Linked DNA regions of Homo sapiens: region 2 is linked to region 1. Evidence: promoter capture Hi-C in human tissues and cell types (Jung and others, 2019). All regions are on one chromosome and are shown on one strand. Each heading gives the region's core, a stretch centred on a gene start or on the middle of the fragment in contact. The rest is flanking DNA. Distances are from core to core; before and after follow the strand shown.

Region 1 (4,501 bases), core at 1,311-3,810:
ATCTTTAGCTACATGATATTTACAGAAAGGGTTTTAAGATTCACAATCCACTTTTTCAGTCTGTCTCTTATATTTCATTAGTCAATTGGAAGTGGCATGAGTTTCATCTGGAAAAAATATTTTCACATTTTCTAATACCTTTGACAAAGAAGTTTTCGTCTGTTAAGGGATGAGAATGCTATTTGGCTATTACCTACTTTTAGAGTTCAAACTAACCCTTCAAATGCCTTTATTTAGATCATACGCTCTCAAACTATCTTATTGTTTTACTGACACAATGGTAAAACTGGGTTCCCAAAATGTCAAAACCCTAATGGAGTCTCTATTTCCAAGAGTAAAATAAAAGACAGCGAATACTATGGGGTGAAAACTATCCTGAGCCTTTCCCGCCCCCCGCCCCACTCTGTAATATTTAGAAACTAGGGGGAAAAAAGTGGGATTGCATTAATAGACTTACAAAACAAAATGTTATGGAAGTGTTTATTTTTTAAAAGGAGAGTTTTAAGAGAACAGGATGCTTGAATATGACCAACTCCTACTCCACGGGAAAAATAACCACAGACCTTTGCTGAGATGGCATCAATAAGTCAAAGAAACCAAGCTAAACAGAATTTGATCTATACACAATATGAAAACTTCTTAACAGGATGGAACACCTATAACAAAATTTAAGTCCCTTCATCTTTCAGCAATGAAATAAGTGAAATTAACATAAGAATATTTTGGAAGGGTTGAGGGTCACAGTCAGAATCAAACAGAAAACTTTCAAACCTAGAAAGCAAAACGGGAACTTTCATAGCTCCTTGATCTACCATATCTAAATAGAAATAGTATAATGACTATCCAATAGGTGATTAGTTTCAAAACTAATACAAGCAATGTATCATGAAAAGCCTCTACATAACAAGCTGTTTTTCTTCTCTGTTCTGCCCCTTTGTCATATGCTTGAGCTTAATGAAGACTATCCTCTGCAGCTGCTCCTGAGGGCACAGAAGAAAGCAATGGAGTAACAAAGGAAGCCTGAGGAGCCCCTGGCCCCTGAGGACCTTCTCTCTGGCCGGTCATAGCAACTTATGTTTTAATGCAGGAGATTTCAAGACTGGTTTGAGAAAAAGAATCTTATCTTGGGGATTAGGTTCCCTGTCAAAGGCCATCAGATGGACAGCTATTTACCAGGCAATTAGCCTAAAGCTCTTAGGTAATGATAAAAAAAAAAAAAAAAGAAAGAAAGAAAAAGAAAACAAAACAAAAAAAAACCCTTACATTTTCCTATTGGAACCTTTTATTCTGTTTTGTTGATGCTTAAGGAAAACAGCTTTGCCCGTAACTCACTGTGGCCTGGAGTTATGACACGAACTTGTATTTGGCCAATTAAGAAAGAGGCCAAACTGCATTCTTCTTAGAAGGTCTATTCAGTTGATAAATGGCACTTAACTGATGGTTTTTTTTCATATAAATTTTAACAAGAACTCATAAGTTGCATTGATTATGCCCCAAGAGATGAGGGACCGATGGTAATTCAGATGGGCACCTCTGAAAAGATTTATCAGTTTTCTGTCCCGTTCCAGCCAGATTTTTTGGAAAACCTTGGGGAAAGACTGAAATTCCCCACCAATCTGAGACTGTAGGCGAGTTTTTACAACATTAATTGGAAAACACAAGAATCCCAACATGGCACCCAATAGACCTCCACCGATAAAATCATTGACCAAATGAGCACTGTGAGTCGTTGCGGTAGGCAGATGCTCCTTAATGGGACCTCGAAGGCCGAAAAACAAGACATTGCTGAGTCCATTCCGGAAAAGAATGGGCACCAAGCCTCGATAATACTCTCCAATTCCATGACATTTCAGTGCCTTGAAAGCCTGATAAGTGTTGGTAAATTTGTCATGATGCTTGTGGTTTTGAAGCAATGTCTGAACTCTTTCCAGTGGAGTGAAAATTGCTTCTGCTGTCCCTGCAAGCACTGCCGCCACGCCATGGGTTGCAAACTCTGGAGCACGGACATGCTTCCGGAGAAGGCAGGATAAATCCTCATACAGACCAAACATAAGTGCAAGCGTAGTTGTCTTCTGCATCAATGGGGGAAGGATTCCACGATACAAATTTCGAAATCCATCCCTTCTCAACTGAAGTACTGCATCCCGGGTTTTGATGCCATACAGCTGTTGCCGAAAGAGGACCTTCTGAATGGGATATGTGATTGCGACGTTGTTGAAGGCTGCACAGCAGCCACACAAGTAATGCTTCATTTCACCAACATTTGTAATATGAGGTGATATATCTTGTTTTGAAGATGTAAGTATTGGTGGCCTCTTTTCATGAGCTTCTGAATCTATCATGTTGCTTAAGATCTTTCTCATGAAGGGCATTTTTTAACCTGTGACATCATCTGAGCCTGGAGTTTGGCAGGATGATAGCTTTGTGATAATGTTCCCAATTTCTTCCATTGTTATTGTTCTGTTAGGTTCTCTCTTCCCGAGTCCATTTTGATAACTGGATTTCCGTTCTCCAGGCGTCCATTTCCCCAACCCATCGCCGCCGGCGCCCCGCAGGACTGCGAGCAAGCCGGGACCTGCGCAGGCGCAGACCATGACCGACCCCGGGGCGGGGGCGCAGCGTGACGCTCTGGGCGCCGCTGGGATCCGAGAAGAAACCCTTTTAAAGCAAGCATGGCAATTTCTTCTAAATAAGCTGGATAAAATTAAAAACTCATTCATCCAAAGATCCTAAAAAATCAACAAATTCCTAAATATTAAATGGTATAGACACAAGTGTTTCTTAAATCACATAACCTTCTCCACGGACACTGTGAAGATGTGTTGCCAGTGGCTTCCCTAAGAGACTGTGAAACTTTTTAAATAGTGTATACATACAAGAAAAGTGGATTTTAGTGTAATCTTGCAGAAGAACAAAACAAACATGGTATCTAAGAGTACAAAGGCACAAAAGTTGAAATTTCATAGTCACTCAGGCCTTGGAGTACTGTATTTTCTTGAAAGGGAAAAAAGTAGGCCAGGTGCAGTGGTTCACACCTGTAATCCCAGCACCTTGGGAGGCCAAAACGGGAGGATCGCTTGAGGCTAGGAATTTGAGACCAGCCTGGGCAACATAGCAAGACCCCTGTCTCTACCCAAAAAAAGAAAAAAGAAAAGAAAGAAAAAAGTAGGTGGTAAGGAGAAGTAAGGAGAAGATGAATTTTTTTTTTAAAAAAAGTTCTGTATACCACATGAAATTTTACTGGGAGGAAAGTGTCTGAGGTTTTAAGAGGCATAAATTAAATAACCTTGAAACCCATTTTGCTCTAGGACTACCCATGTGTTTTCTAGAGTAACCAATGTGTATATTCCATGTATGTGAATGAGAGATGAAAGGAAACAAAAATAACTTCCCTTCCAGGAACAGTGGAAGGCTTCAGCCAACAAAGTAGGTCACAGCATCAGACTACATTGCCTGCTGATGTGTACTGCCTAGTTTTTGAATAGAATCAAATGACAGCTTCCTTGAGATTAAATGACAGTTTCCCTGACCATCATCTTAAAGCACGCCTATGGTGGATCGCTCTAGAATGAACCATAAACCCGAAGTTCTCTTTAAGCTTTAGTGAAACGAAATAGTAAAAGCTTTTCACGGAAAGAGAAGGGAGTCTCCAACATTTATACTGATTGATTTTGGCAGCAATGACTTTCATTAGAAATGTAATTGCTGGGTATGCAAAAATTAGCACTGTTGGGGCTAGAGAGATCTTTGTTTTCCTTTCTTTTGTTTTGTTTTGCTTTTTTGCCTAATATTGATAGTGTTTTCTCGGTTTTGCCATAGCCCTTCTGTCAAGATGCTGGCAATCAGTATATCATGAAAAACAGACTGCCCTTTCTCGCATTTATTGAAGAGAGATTCTCATGATCCTATGGTAAGATAACAATTGCTTTTTTTCAATCCATCCTCCACACTGCAGCCAAAGCAGTCATCTTAGTAACAAACGTGAGCACGTTTTCCCTCACTTAAATCTTTAAATGATTTTACACCTGAAGGACAAAGGTCCCCCATGGTCTGACGTTTTCCTACCCTTGGCGCCATCTGCCTTCACATTTCTAAAGGCACCTTCCGTCCCCGCCATATCAAACTACTCGGGGTCTCCAGAATGAAGAATAATGTGCCATCTGACACTCCTTTGTCTTTATTCGGTTATTGCCTCTGCCTGAAATGTCCTTACTTCTAGTTCCTACTCAGCTTCTGGAAGCCTTCGCTAACTCCTTAGTCCAAATGAGGACCCCTTCTCCACAACACACCCTATACACACTGTGAGTGTGGCACGTGTCACACTGTACAATGTCCACGATTCACAATGCTGAGGGCTTCTTGAAGACACAGTCCACTTCTCATTGAACTTTATTCCAGTTTGTGTCCCCAGTGTCCAGGCATCTGGTTAGGTCTCCAACTGCTTAAGAGTGTAAAGAGTGTTGATGAGTTCTGTATTACTCATGGGTCTTGGTTATAAGAG
Region 2 (4,501 bases), core at 1,138-3,637, 1.9 Mb before region 1:
TTCACATGTATTGAAACAGCATCTTGATATAGACAAGAAAGACTAGGGAGATGAAATGGTCCTGAGTCAACCAATACAGAAACAGAAACAACGGCTACAAACACATAACTCAAGCACAAGTACTTTTTTTTGTAAGGTATCAGATATAAAGATTCAATGTCAAATGAAATTTTTAAAATTAGGTTTGTGTGCCTTCCCATAGAATAAATAAAGTAGATCATGGTGAGTGGAAGCTGAGAAGAAAACAAGTGGACGGTAGAGCATGAGTTTACAAAGCTACCAGATTCTGTTGGATCACATTTTGGTTTTCTCCAGCAGGGTGTAGCTGTGTGGAAGTTGGGTCAACCTTGTCAATATCAGCTGGAAATACAAACATATTTATGATAATAATGGAGTGACTCTTATCTATGGATCTATTTAGAAACACCTCTGCCCCAATGAGTCCTTTCTACCCAGTGCAGAGAATCTTTAGCACATACATAATGAGATCTCCAACAATATAGAAGATATGACTACCTTAAGGAGTGGATTTGGCTTGTGTCATAGCTGAGCTGAGTCATCAGAGGAGTATGACAACCTGTTCCTTTATCCACCCTTCACAGGCTACCCAAACTTACTTTCTAAGTGTCTTCTCATTAGATGCATTCATTCTGATCTCACTTTCACATGTGGAGTTTTGAGAAAGGCTTTGCTTTTAACTTCTCCATGATTTTCAACACACTATATACGTAAAAGGTAGCCTGGGTGTTGCGTTTACTTTTAGCATTTAAGGGCTGGCATTTTCCTTATCTCTCCTTTCATTATAGTTTGATTATTCTGTTATGGCACTCTTCTCAATGTATAGTAATTGTGTGTTTAATGTATATATCTCTTCCACTAGCCTGTGTGTTCAGCTCCAGAGTGATTAAACATGGCATATATTCTCATATTCAGTTCCACAATAGGCATAGCAAAGCTAGCCATGTCATGGGAGATGAGACCTGTTTAACTGAATTTCCTAAGACATATTTTTTTTTCTCCACCATTATGACCACATACCTTTGTTCTGCTCTTTGGCATTCTGATTCCTTTTATGAATTCACAATAATTGGGCAAATTTGATAACCCATTTGCCTTCTTTTACATTTGTTTACTCAGTTAGGTTCTAGTAAAATTTTGTTATTTGTGTTCCTTTTATTTCAATATCTTCTGTTCCAATTCTGAAACCCTTATTATTTTTCTCTGTTATCTGGTCTCATATCTTTAGCGAATATTTGGCACTTTAATGATGAGATAAGATTAAAATTTGAAATTAATCAGTAAAAGTAGCTGGCATATATCTGTGTTCAGTAAATACTGAATATAAAAATTAGCAAATGATTTAAGGTAGTGTAATTCATTTTTGGTAAGCCAAAATTACAAGCAAATCCTCCATACTTCCGGACTTAAGTGCGTTCTACTAGATTATAAAGTAACAATAAATAAAAAAATCAATAAATTATAATTACTCAATAAAATCCTAGCACATTCATTCACAAACATCAGTATCCTCAATAGGCCAATTAGCTCTAGACTAGCCAAATCTTTGTGGAACACAGAGACATATGAGAATGTATTTCTTTTCTTTCCTCTTTCTGCATCAAATTACATTTCAACGTAAAAGAAAACACTTAACAAATTCACTTGCCAAGCTTTTTCTAGCTTTTTTTTTTTCACAAGAAGTGGTTAATTTTACATCTAAATTGCATCACATTTCTCTCTTATGTACTACCTAATGAGTGGTTTGGACCGTATCGTTTGAAAGCATCATAAGTCAAATTTCAACCTAAGTGCAGAATAGTCTTACATTTTTTACTGAAAGAAGATAAAAAGTATTATGGCCAAATCTTCCAAAGTAGGCAAAGATACAAATTTTCAGACATTGCGTAAATGCCAGACTTAGATTGATTTTTGCTTTTTTAATATTCAATTATCCCTTAAGTGAAGATCAACAGCCAAAACTTGTCTTTAGCTTTCTTCTTTTACCCTGGTTTGTTCCTAATGCTTTGGAATTGATGTGTGATGTATTTTGAGTTCTTGAAAGATTTCTTCAAACTATGTACTTGTATATTATAAAGTTTAAATAGAATTTTTTTATTTAATGACCATGCTTAATGTACAAAACATTCCAAAGCTTAAAATGTATGTCTTTATTTCCTCCCATCCACTGTCCTACTCTTTACCCTATCCACTATACATTACTTATCCCTGATAATACAAAAATATATAGGTGGCTAGTGTTTGCATCTATTGTCTTTACTTAAGAACTGATGTTGTTTCTTTACATTCACTTTTTGCTCTTCCTCTTGCTTCTGGTATTTATCTGTGTAATGTACAAGTCCAAAACAGTAACATACATACCTACATACCCAGCTGACAACCACAACTTGCAACAACTTTCCTCTTATACAGACAGTCTAGTTCATTTAGGCTAAGATATTTTAGAATGCTCACTGTGTCATCCCTTCCAGATATTTTTATCAACTATAAAATCTCAATCAAGGAAATTATGTCTGCATAAAATTAATTTCTTTGTTTAACTTAAACAAATTAAAATTGACACTGAGCCCTCATTCTATTGAATTGGTAAAAATTTAACCTCAAGGATCACCTGGGCTACCCTAGGCTTTTTTCTCTAGAGTCCCAGGTGAATGAAGTAGGCTTTACAGAGAGCCTAAAGTGGGTAGTGGAAGGAGGAGGGAATTTTCTAATCTCTATTCTATTGTGCTCTGTACTGTCATCCCCATCAGGGAGTTTGTCATTTTCTCAGGTACCGTCATAACTATCTGCACACTTTTCCGTGTGCTGGGATCCACAGACTTGTAAAAAGACCAAAGGACTTGTATGCTTTCTCTGGTGATGGAATAATCTGAAACTAGTGCTTTGTTCTTATTTTTGCTGTCAACAGTAAAATGATTTTCATCTCAGGAAGACTACAGCAAAAAAGTAAATATCCTTTTTCAGAAACGTGTAGATGTTTTTGTTTGTGTATTTATTTATTTATGTATTTGAGACAGAGTCTTACTCTGTTGCCCTGGAGTGCAGTGGTGGGATTGAGGCTTACTACAACCTCTGCCTCACAGGTTGAAGCGATTCTTCTGCCTCAGCCTCCCGAGTAGCTGGGACTACAGGCGTGCAACACCACACTAAGCTAATTTTTGTATTTTTAGTAGAGACGGAGTTTCACCATGTTGGCCAGGCTGGTCTCAAACTCCTGACCTCAAGTGATTCGTCCACCTCAGCCTCCCAAAGTACTGGGATTACAGGCATGAGCCATTGTGCCTGGCCAATTTTTGCCCTTGTTGATTTGAAATCTTCCTGGTAAAATGTGTTTGGAGGTTTTAAAATGTTGTCTGTCAAAAAGTGAGTAGTGGCATAGTGAATAAAATGACTTTGGGTCCCAGTTTATAGTTACGGTGGAATAACTGTGATTCGACTAACCTACTTTTTTGATGACAACAATTATAAACCCCAAACTAAAAAGTAAAAAATAAAAGAACATAAAACAAAAACACATTTCTGAAGGCACCAGAAAGGGACCACAAGCAGCAGACCCTGGAGGGAACATGACTCTTGAGAGAAGGTAAACGTTATGGGTGAAATCCACATTCATGCAGCTTTTTTCTGAAAGCATTCTCCTATTTTCAGAGTGTTTCAGAGTTAAGGCTCAAGCAGAAAGCAACATTCACTTTGACTGAGCATCAGAGATTGGAGTTTGAGGGTGCAAGATTAATTGGAGAGTAGAGCCACAAAGGTGGAAGTCCCAGAATCTGCATAGTAACAAATTGCACACCCTTGTCAACATCTGAACCATAATCTTACAGGGAAAGTTTCCAAGAAAATTGAGCAAATACTATCGTTAGAAAACTAAAACTTTTTAGCAGAAATTTCAACAGCTGTGTAGTATCAGTGATAGAATTTGATAATGTAATATGGACAATTTAAGAGAAATTTATAATAAGTGCCTAAGATTTGTGATTAGAACTTCAAAAAGACCAAATATCAGAAACTGCGATTACAACCAAGGACTAAGGACAAAACTCACATTAAATGTAAAAACAGTTATTCGTAACATCAAGATGACCTGCAGCCATTTATCTGCTTGGAAGAACAAAATTCAACACTTCCAGGAAAAAGATAAAAGCATTCTAAATTTTCCAACAACGTATGATTGACAATTTTCCATTTGTAATAAAATTGATAAACATATGAAATTATAGGAAACTGTGACCTCTATCAAGAAATATACAGTCAATATAAGCAGATCCAAAATGACCAGGGTGTTGCAATTAGCCAACATGGAATTTAAATTTACTATGATAAATATGTTAGGGCATGTGTAGGAAAAGAATTGACATGAGTCAGCAGATGGGAAATTTCAGATTTATTGACACTTTAATGGGAGTATATAATGGACATCTCAGAAGTGAGAAATAAAATACCAAACAAACACACAAACACACACACATACCACCACTTCAGC

What was found. The method cuts DNA at HindIII sites, captures the fragments that hold promoters and counts their contacts. A contact is called where the count stands out against the background at its distance.
Region 2: a contact is called between a fragment that was not itself captured here and the fragment with the promoter of SLC25A52 in region 1, in 1 of the 25 tissues and cell types used here (dorsolateral prefrontal cortex).

The regions. Positions count from the first base shown.
Region 1 is chr18:31,758,320-31,762,820 of GRCh38, forward strand. It overlaps SLC25A52 (solute carrier family 25 member 52), which reads right to left and starts at 2,561. Exons shown (of 1, transcript NM_001034172.4): 1 at 1,265-2,561. The coding sequence starts at 2,342. The coding sequence ends at 1,449. The HindIII fragment of the contact is 6,307 bases long and covers 1-4,338 here.
Region 2 is chr18:29,823,328-29,827,828 of GRCh38, forward strand. No RefSeq gene overlaps it. Among named protein-coding and RNA genes, the nearest start is that of MIR302F, 470 kb to the right of the region's middle. The HindIII fragment of the contact is 3,507 bases long and covers 635-4,141 here.